2 separate regions of the Homo sapiens genome follow, and region 2 is linked to region 1. The links are contacts of gene promoters, found by promoter capture Hi-C in blood cells and fetal thymus (Javierre and others, 2016). All regions are on one chromosome and are shown on one strand. The core of a region is centred on a gene start or on the middle of the fragment in contact, and the rest is flanking DNA. Distances in the headings are between cores, read along the strand shown. Region 1 holds the start of SAMD13 (sterile alpha motif domain containing 13). Region 2 overlaps PRKACB (protein kinase cAMP-activated catalytic subunit beta).

Region 1 (4,842 bases), core at 1,899-4,398:
GCGGGGAGGTAAGTGATCTGCCTGTGCGCCCAGGGCGTGGGAAGGCGCCCGCCCTCTCCTCTCTCCAGGATGAAAGGAAACGAAGAATGCCGCAATGAAAACCGCTCTGCCCTCCCAAAAACACATCTTGGCCGTGTGTCCGGTGCTCCTGCAGCTCGTTGCACCCACGGACGTGGGCTCTCACTGTGGAGTGGAGTGGGGGCAGAAGCGTGCCCTGCCCCACGGAGAGCCCCGGCTCGCCTGGGGCTGCTGGCAGTGCTCGGGGAGCGGGACGGGGTGGTGGCACGACTCGGCGGGGACCCCGAGAACGCCACACCTCCACCCTCCACTTTCCAAAGACCGGCTTCCCCGGGGAGCCCCCACACTAAACGCCAGCGAACTGCCTCTCCGTGAAAGTCTTAGCCAGAAACTTTCCCCGCTTTGTCGCCAGTGCCACAGAGAGTCGTGTGGCTCTGGGCCGGCGCTGCTGGTCCAAGAGGCAGCCTGGCGTCTTCTGCCCCTACCGTCCCCTTCTCAGGCCAGTTCTCACTTGCCCCTGAGACGCCATTCCCGGCTCGGTGAGGTCGGCCCTGCCCTCGGGCGACTTCAGGCTGGCTGCACCGGGGGTCGGATCCCGGGAGGCAGGGCCGGCGGCTCCTTTGGGACCGCGCTGGCTCCCTAGGCGAGTCCTTTCTGCCTGGGGGACGAATGCTGATCTAGAAAAGAAGCCAATCAAAGTCAACAGCTTCCCGCCCTTCCTAACCGCCTCCCCTCTCCCTATCTGAGCGCATTCCCAAGTGGGTCGACAGTTCTGCTCCAGAATACTGACACCAAAGTTATTTCAGCATATAATTTGGAGATTTCAGGATCTCTAAAGTTATTTCAGCATATCCCATAATGTGCTGGATCGGAAGGTCTTGTTTGGTTGCCTCTCCCCCTCACCCCCACACACCACATACACACACACCCCCACATACGTACCACACCCACACACAAAGTACACCACATAGTGCACACATCACACTCACATACTTTATGCTACATACTACACACACAACTTTTTATCAGCAGAGGATTGATGGCAAACAGTTTGTTGGAGGGAGTGTGTGAGTACTAGTGTATATATATATATATATATTTATTTATTTATTTATTTATATTCACAAGTGTCAGTTTACTACCAAAGTTAGAAACTAGCTGGTAAGTGAAACCTGTTGTCATAATTTAGAGTGTCTTTGTGGCTCACTTTTTATAAAACGGGATTAACTTCCTACAACACTTTCTGAAACTTTACTCTTGTGTAACAGGCAAACTTTTGATCACAGCAGGCCAGATGGGAGGGGATGTCCCTTTGTATATGCAGGAAGAGATGCTTGGAAAAACTTCACAGAATCCTTTCTCCTGTGGCTGTGTCTAAGGAAGAGCTGGGTGTAACTACAGTTTCTTTGCCTTTTCCCCGTCAAGAGTGGAGAGCTGAACATGCTTTTGTTCTGAGCAGCACTGTCAGGACAACCCCAGCTCCCCAAGACACAGAACTCCCAGTCCAACTCGCTTCCAATTTGGATTTACTGGGAGAATAGTTCAGGAATTTCAGATCAAGTCCAAAAGCGTTAAGGAATCTGTTAGTGAAAGAGCTCTTTATCTACATAAAAGTCCATCATTTTGAGATCAGCACTGGTGAAAGATCCACATGCCTGACCCATGCTCAAAAAATACTGCTCAAAAATATTTAATTGGTTCCTAGATTACTATTGTTTGCCTTTTCAAGGGAGCAATGGCAAATATTTGAAATCTTTCTTGGCACTGATCTTCAAGGAAGTCAAAAATTTCTAATATAATTCCTGGAATAAGTAAAGAACAAATTTTTTGACCTTGAAATTCAGGTTCCAAATTTAGATCAAAGGTAATCTCCTAATGTCCTAAAAGATTATTTTTAAAAAGGGAAGCAGGCAGCTTTTTCCTCAGATTCTACCTGAATTCTACAGGATATTACAGCAAGTGATAACTTTTTCCAGGATCTTTCTGGGGAACCTGTGTTCTGTGCCCTGTCTTGAGTGGTTTTGTTGACCATCTTGACCTAAAAGTGTCCAAATGTTGATTGATGTTTATTTCAATGAAGAGGCAACCATGTATGTTTTCTGTGTATGTGCAGAACATTAATGGGATGAGATTATTCTCCTGGAAAAGTGGTTTAAGCCAAGCAAGGGAACTGTGAGAATGACCAGGGTAACTTAAACAAAAGATCTTGCCCAGCCTCTCTGCTCCACCTCCCAGTTTTCTGATTTGGTATTTAGGATGATGGCGGGAGAGACTATGAATTTTGGGGTGGGCATAATGTCTTTCTATTCATATGTAACTAATATAGTACCGGGTACTCATAGATTGTAAGTGTTGGTTAAATTTCTTGAATTATGCTTTTTGTCCAACTGGGATAAACAGTTAAAATTAAACCTCCCAGAACTAATTGTTTTCGTTTTGTAGAATAAGGTTTTGTTTGTTTCAGTTTGAATTTTTGCTGGCTTCATTTGGCAGGATAAATGCCAAAATAAAAGAATGTGGGCGTTTTCAGGAGATCTGGTCATCTATTTTGCATCCTTTCCGAAATATGTTACTTCCTGCATAATGAAGTAAAAGGATTTGCTGCTGGGCAGTGCTTTCCTTATTCTCACAAAGAGATTACTTAAAAGCCAGCCCTGGGAACTTTGTCCATGAATCTCTATTAGGAAAAAAAGAGTAACATGGGACTGCAGCTTCCGAGTGTTCTCTGGTTATAGCCCATAAGCACTGGCTTCTCACTCTTATTTTTCCCTCTGGGGAGAAAAGGAAATAGTTTGAAACATGACATTCATGCTCAGAACAACAGCTAAGACCTATCATGCAGCAACAATGAAGGGGAGGGAGAAAATAAGAAGCTATTGAGACAGCTTGTTTTTCTTTGTACAAGACAGGTGCAGGGAGAATTCTGCAGGTTTTGGACTCCTTACTCATTTCTTGCACTAATTGTGCTGAAGGTAGTTAGCAAAAGTGAACAGGCACACTGTAGCTTTAAAAAGTCAGCCATGAACCAGAAGGCAGTTGGTGCAGCTTGTGTGTGATTCCTAACGTCATGTTGGCTGAGAGCCAGCCTGGTTTTATTTCACTGTGTCAAATTGTACCTCCTTATTGAATTCCTTTGCCAGCCTACTTTGTGAAAGAAAACATTGGGGTTTCTTTGGCTGTTCTTGATAAGCCTATAAAAAATGATATTTTTTAGTTGCTTATAGGTAGGTTTTCTTTTTACTCTTCCACAGAAAAGAAAATAATAGTAATAATAATAAGACAATGTAGTGTGGTGTTGCAGAGTATCATTGTGAGTGTTTTGTTTTGTTTTCTGAGATGCTTAGAAAATGGTGAATGTGTAACAGTTTCCAACTGAAGTGAAATCATATTCTGTTAGCATGGAGCAGCAGCACTATCTTCCTGTCTACTCTCTAACGGTGTGTGAATGTATGCTAATATCTATATATATATATTAAATGTTGGATTTCTCTATCAATGATCTAAGTGGTTTGCAGCTGGAAGTTTGTGTGTATGTGTGTGTTTCAGGAGTGAAAATTATCCCACACTTACAGTGTTATTTGTTAATCATCTACTTCTCTAACAGTGATAAAATCTTGCGAATATACTAAATGATGCACTTGCCATGTCAGAGTAATCCCTAGAGAAGGAGTGCCGAAGTATAAAGTGATTTGAGTGGAAATGTATTTAATTTATGGCTTCAGCTGAATAAGAGCAAACACGTTTCGGGACTGTTTCTTCCTTTTTTTTTTTTTTTTTTCTTAAAGCAGTTTTGTTCGTAGCTTTTTCATTTTGCTAATTGCATATTAATTGTGGAAGGCTTTTAATTTTCCACAGCCCTCATCCTACTAAACAAAAAGACAGAGTGATGGATGCTACAATATCTCCTTAAATGTTTTGATGATTTTTCATAAATCTAATGAGTTACCTACTCTTTCTTACACATACACACACACACACACACACACACACACACACACACCAGCACCACCTTTCTGTGCTAAGGGCTATCTGGCATTTTTTGTGAGCTTCCTGCTTTACCACAGCATGGCCATCTCACAGACGGGTTTTTGAGGCTTTCGTTGAGAATGTGAGGTAGGGGAATACTTGCTGACAAAAGCTTTAAGTGTCCTTCTGCATTGCAATGAAAAAATCTAGGAGCAAGGGGGAGTGGACAAAAAAAAAACCAAACACAATAAGAAAAAACAAATCAAAGCCCATAATGGGAGGGGGGCAGGAAAAGGGGGATTGTTTTTCTCTACTTTGACTCATTTATGAGTTGCAGTGTCTTAAGTGAGAGCTAGGCACCCAGAAGAAGCTGTGCCAGTTCACACAGCACTTGTTTTCAACGAGGATTCAATTTCATTTGCAAATGCTTATTGTCAAGGCAGGGAGTGCCAGTACAGATGAAAGCACCCCAATCCGTCTCCTCCAGTTCTTTAGGTTTAATCACATCTCTCCAATCGCCGAGGGAACTGGAGATTTAAACAAACATACGTGAACTGGTGTGAAGCTGTAAAAGGGACCATTATGTTTCCGATTCAGAATATATATTCTTCTCTCACTTTCTAAGAATTAAACACAAGCTTTTCTCCCTTATTGATTAGTTGCTGAAGTAAAGGAACCCTGCAGCCTTCCCATGCTATCTGTTGACATGGAAAACAAGGAAAATGGCTCTGTCGGTGTAAAAAAGTAAGTGAAGCTGGCTTCTGAGTTCTGCTTCTGCAAACAACAGAGGGACTTAGTTTCTATTTTCGTACTTCTTGCTTATCTACTACAATACACAGTTTGGGGGTCGCCTTGGTT
Region 2 (5,037 bases), core at 536-3,035, 140 kb before region 1:
GTTGACCATAAATGAAAGGGTTCACTTCTGAATTCTCAATTCTGTCCCAGTGAACTACATGTCTGTCCTCATTCCTATACTACACTGTCTTGATTACTAAAACTTTAAGGTAAGTTTTGAAATCACATAGTGTAAGTCCTCCAACTTTGTTCTTCTTTTATCAAAATTGTTTTGTCTATTTTGGGGTCCTTTGCATTTTCATATAAATTTCTGGATCAATTTGTCAGTTTCTAAAGAAAAGCTTTATTAGATTTTCATAGAGATTATATATTGAGTTCATAGATTAACTTGTAGAGAATTGTTATTTTAACAATTTTGAGTCTTGGAATCCATGAACATGAAATGTCTCTCCATTTATTTACATATTCTTTAATTTCTTTAGCGTTCCAGTCTTGTAAAAATGATTTCTAAGTGTTTTATTTCTGTTGATATTATTGTGAATGGATAAGTCTTAATTTCACATTTGGATTGTTTGTTGCTAGTATATACAAATGTTATTGATTTTTATATTGATCTTATATCATCCTATGATGTTGCTAAACTCATTTTTTAGTTCTAGTAGTTTCTTTATAGATTCCTTATAATTTTCTACATATAGAATAATTTCATCTGCAAATAAAGACAGTTTTATTTCTTCTTTATCCTTTAATATCTATTTTCTTGCCTCATTGCACTGGCTAGATTTCCCAGTACAAAGATGCATAGAAGTGGTGAATGCCTTATGCCCTATCTTAAGGGGAAAGCGTTCCATCTTTCATCATTAAATATGACATAAGTATAGAGTTTCCCCTGCCCCACATGTCCTTTATCAGTTTGAGGAAGTTCCTTTCTAGTCCTCGTTGTTGAGAGGTTTTCTCATGGCTGTTGGATTTTGTGGAGTGCTTCTTCTGCATATATTGAGATGATTATTTGGTTTTATACTTTATTAATATAACATAGTTCGTTAATTGATTTTCAATGTTGAACCAACCTTACCTTTCATGGAATAAATCCCACATGGTCATTGTGTATGATCCTCTGTATATACTGCTAGATTAAGTTTGCTGGCATTTTGATAAAAGGTTTTTGCATCAATGTTTGCAATGGATATTGGTCTGTGGTTTTCGTTTGATCTTTGCCTAACTTTGGTATTAGGCCTCTTAGAATGAGTTGGGAAGTGTTCCTGCCACTTCTGAATTCTGAAAGAGTTTGTGTAGGGTTGGTATTATCTTTGAATGTTTCATATAATTAACCAGTGAAGCCATCTCGACTTGAGCTTTTCTTTGTGGGAAAAATTTTAATTACTAATTCAATATTTGTGTTACAGGTTTATTTACATTTTCTATTTCTTTTTTAGTTAGTGTTGGTAATTTGTGCCTAAGAGTTTTTCCATTTCATCTGTTGTCTTATATGATTGGGATAAGGTTGTTTATAGTATTCCTTTATAATCCTTTTAATTTATCTAGCATCAGTGGTGATATCATAGTTTCATTACTGATTTCTGTAATTAATATCTTCTGTTTTCTTTTTGTTCATTTTGTTTTGATATTTGGTCAGTCTAGTGAAAGTTTTATCATAAGACTTTTGGTTTAATTCATTTTTCTCTACTGCTTTTCTATATATTTTACTGAATATATTATATATAATATAATACTATAATATATAATAATATATACAAAGCTTAAGTTACTGATTTGGAACTTTTCTATTTTACTCTAAATGGTTAAAGCTATGAATTTTTTTTCTAAACCTGCTTTATCTACCTCCAATAAATGTAGATATGCTGTAGTTTATTTTCATTTACCTCAAAATATTTTCTAATTTCCCTTGGAATTTGTTTGTGATTTAATATCTAAATATTTAGAGATTTCTAAAATTTCTTTCTGTTTTTATTTATAACTTAATTCTGCTGTGATTATAGAATATATTTTGAAAGCTTTGGCAAACCCTTCAAATTAATTGAGACATTATATTTTCTAGCATTTGCTTAATATGTAGAATATCCATGTGTGCTTGATAAGAATGTGTATTCTGCTGATGTTAAATTCTGTATTTTATAAATGTCAAGATTTTTTTGATGGTGTTATTTAAGTTGTTTGTCTCTTTTCCAATTTCCTGTCTAGTTTTTCCATCAATTATTGAGAGAGAAGTATGGAAATTTCCAACTATTAGTATTAAATATTTTTCTCCTTTCAATTCTGTCCGTTTTTATTTTAGTACTGTGGGGGCTCTTCTGTTCAATGCATATGCATTTCTAATTGTCACATTTTTCAGATGTATTGGCCTTTTATAATTATGAATGTCCCTTTTGTCTCATAATTTTTCTAGACTTAAAGTCTATTTTGTCTAATATTGATATAGGCATTCCAGCTGTCTTATGGTTACTGTTTGCATGATGAATCTTGTTTTCCTGTTTTTACTTTAGCCTATTTATATCTATGAATCTAAAATGTGTCTCTTATAGATGTTATATAGTTTGATCTTGATTTTTATCCAATCTGATAATTTCTGCCTTTTGATTTGTGTTTCTTCCATTCATAGTTAATGTCACTATTGATATGGTTGGATTTGTAGCTTCCATTTTACTGTTTTCTGTCTCATAGTTTTTGTTGTTCCTCTTTTCCCTTTCTACCACCTTCTTTTCTATTACGTATGTTTTAATTATTTGGTTTTGATTTTTAAAAATAAAATTTAAAAGGCATTTTCTTAATATTTCTTTAGAGATTATAATACACAAGATTATAATTTATCTTATCATAGTTTACTTCAGGATAGTACTGACTTAATTCTAGTGGAATAGAACTGCTTTGATCCAATATAGCTTCATTTCTTTTCCAAATTTGTGTTTTTTCACATATATTTATATATTTTATAAACCCAGCAACATAATGTTGTAATTATTGCCTCATACAACTTTAAGTCTCTTAAAGAAATTAAGAGAGAACAGAAAAAATGTGTATTTATATAGCCTTTTATTTATATATTTACCATTTTTAGTGCTCTTCATTTCTTTCTGTCAATTTGAGCTGTTGTCTAGTATTATTTCCTCTCAGCTTTAAGGACTTAGGTATTTCTGCTTACAACAAATATCCTCCGTTGTTTCTCTGGGAATCTTTCATTTCACCTTTATTTTTGGAGGATAATTTTCCTGGATAGAGAAATGTTGGTGGATGGGTTTGCTTTCTTGTTTCTTTTAGCACTTCATTTCTCTGCCTTCTGGCCCTACTTATTTCTAATGAGAAGTCATTAATCATATTTTTCCCCTGGACGTGATTCATCATTTTTCTCTTGCTGCTTTCATGACTTTTCTCCTTACCTTTCAACAATTTGACTATGATATGTCTCAGTGTGGATCTTTTGGGTTTTATTCTAGTTGGCATTGGCTGAGCTTCTTGGATCCATAGGTTACTGTTTTCCATCAAATTGGGACATTTTCAGCCATTATTCCTTCAAATGTTTTTTCATCACCCTTTGTCTCTCTCCTTTTTTTCTAATTCCCATGAGATATATGTTGGTTCCCTTGATATCCCATAAGTTTCTCAGGCTCTGTCCACTTTTCTCCTGTCTTTTTCTGTGTTCTTCCGACTGGATGATTTCCATTGATCTATCTTCCAGTTCACTGATTTGATCTTTTGCTCTTTTAAATCTGCTGTTGGGCTTACTATACTGAGTTTTAAAATTTTGGTTATTATACTTTTCAAATCTGCACTTTTTATTTTTAAATAGTTTTTCTTTCTATATTGAAAGTTTCTATATGTTGTTCATTACTGTCGTGTTTTCCTTTAGGTATTTAACACAATTTTCTTTTAATTATTTTCATATATGTATAATAGCTATTTTAAAGTCTTTAAAGCCTTTGTCTGCTAAATTCTACACCTGGGCCCATTCAGGGACATTTTTTATTGACTGCTTTTTTTCCTCATTGTGGATCACACAAGTTTTTGTCAAAAATGTGTTTTTTAAAATAACATGTGGTAGTAGCTCTGGGTTTTGATTATTTTTTCCCTGAGGGTTGGTTTTGTTTATTTTTTTATTAAAAACTTCCTTTGTCTTAATCTATGGAATCTGTATCCCTCATGATATGTGACTACTGATTTCTCTGCTTAGTTTTTTCTTCTTATTCTAATTTTTATTTTTTAACCTGGTTTCCTAGGGATTGCCCTGTGTCTCTGTAGCTTAATTGTTATTTAATGATTGATCAGAGGTTGTACTCAAACACTGGGACCAGCCAGTGCTGATGGAACTGTGTGCAAATTGAGGAGCACATGCAGTATTTAGGCAGTTCGGAAGTCTGTACCAGCTTTAACTTTCCACTGGGCCCTCTTTCGTGTCCTTTGTGCTTGTCATTACCTCCTAGTCAGATTGCATAGCAAGGTGGGCAGACTGGGTGGCCTGGTGAACTTACGTAGCCTCTGTCTGTCTCATCTTCATTTACCCCATGCTATGTTTCTTGCTATACCACCAATGTGTTGCTTAGCCCTACCAAGGCCATAGCCTTAGACTGTTAATTTCTTTCAGCTTGCTTTTTTCGTTGACAATATCACTAATGAGTTTTTTGGCCTCCACTTCAAATCAAATCAGCCCCCTCTCATGTCAGCCCCTTCCAGAAGTGAAGCTGCTAGTTTTCATGACCAGCCCTACCCTGGTAGAAGTACTCTCCTGACTGAGCTATAAAGGAGTGGGAGCAGCCCCAGGCAAGAACATCTCTGACTCCCACTGTTTTTAGGCAGAGTTCAGTGGTTCGTCACAAATAAATGTTTCTTAATTTGTTGTTTATGACTGCTCGATTTCCAGAGCCATGAAATCATTGTTTTTGATAATTCTGTTCAGCTTCATAGTTGTTTCTTAGGAAGATTTCCTGACTTACTTCCACATCACCAAAAGTCCTGCCTCACATGGCAACTGTTAAAATGGCAAGTTCACGTGCTGAAGTTCTACTTAACAAGGAACCATTCTATAGATTCTTTGTACCATTTTGGTACAAATTTTGGATCTCTGGTAATCAAAACAATCTGTTCACCATGCTACCCAGTCAGCCCACCTTGCTATACAATCTGT

The links. The method cuts DNA at HindIII sites, captures the fragments that hold promoters and counts their contacts. A CHiCAGO score of 5 or more calls a contact.
Region 2: a fragment that was not itself captured here is called in contact with the fragment with the promoter of SAMD13 in region 1 in 2 of 17 cell types (erythroblasts and megakaryocytes); the score reaches 6.6 in erythroblasts.

What each region holds. Positions count from the first base shown.
Region 1 is chr1:84,298,560-84,303,401 of GRCh38, forward strand. SAMD13 (sterile alpha motif domain containing 13) reads left to right here and starts at 3,149. Exons shown (of 4, transcript NM_001134663.2): 1 at 3,149-3,242; 2 at 4,644-4,728. The coding sequence starts at 4,676. RefSeq lists a silencer at 1-22. The HindIII fragment of the contact is 6,789 bases long and covers 1-4,154 here.
Region 2 is chr1:84,158,936-84,163,972 of GRCh38, forward strand. All of the region lies in intron 1 of PRKACB (protein kinase cAMP-activated catalytic subunit beta), which reads left to right. Among named protein-coding and RNA genes, the nearest start is that of PRKACB, 17 kb to the left of the region's middle. The HindIII fragment of the contact is 256 bases long and covers 1,658-1,913 here.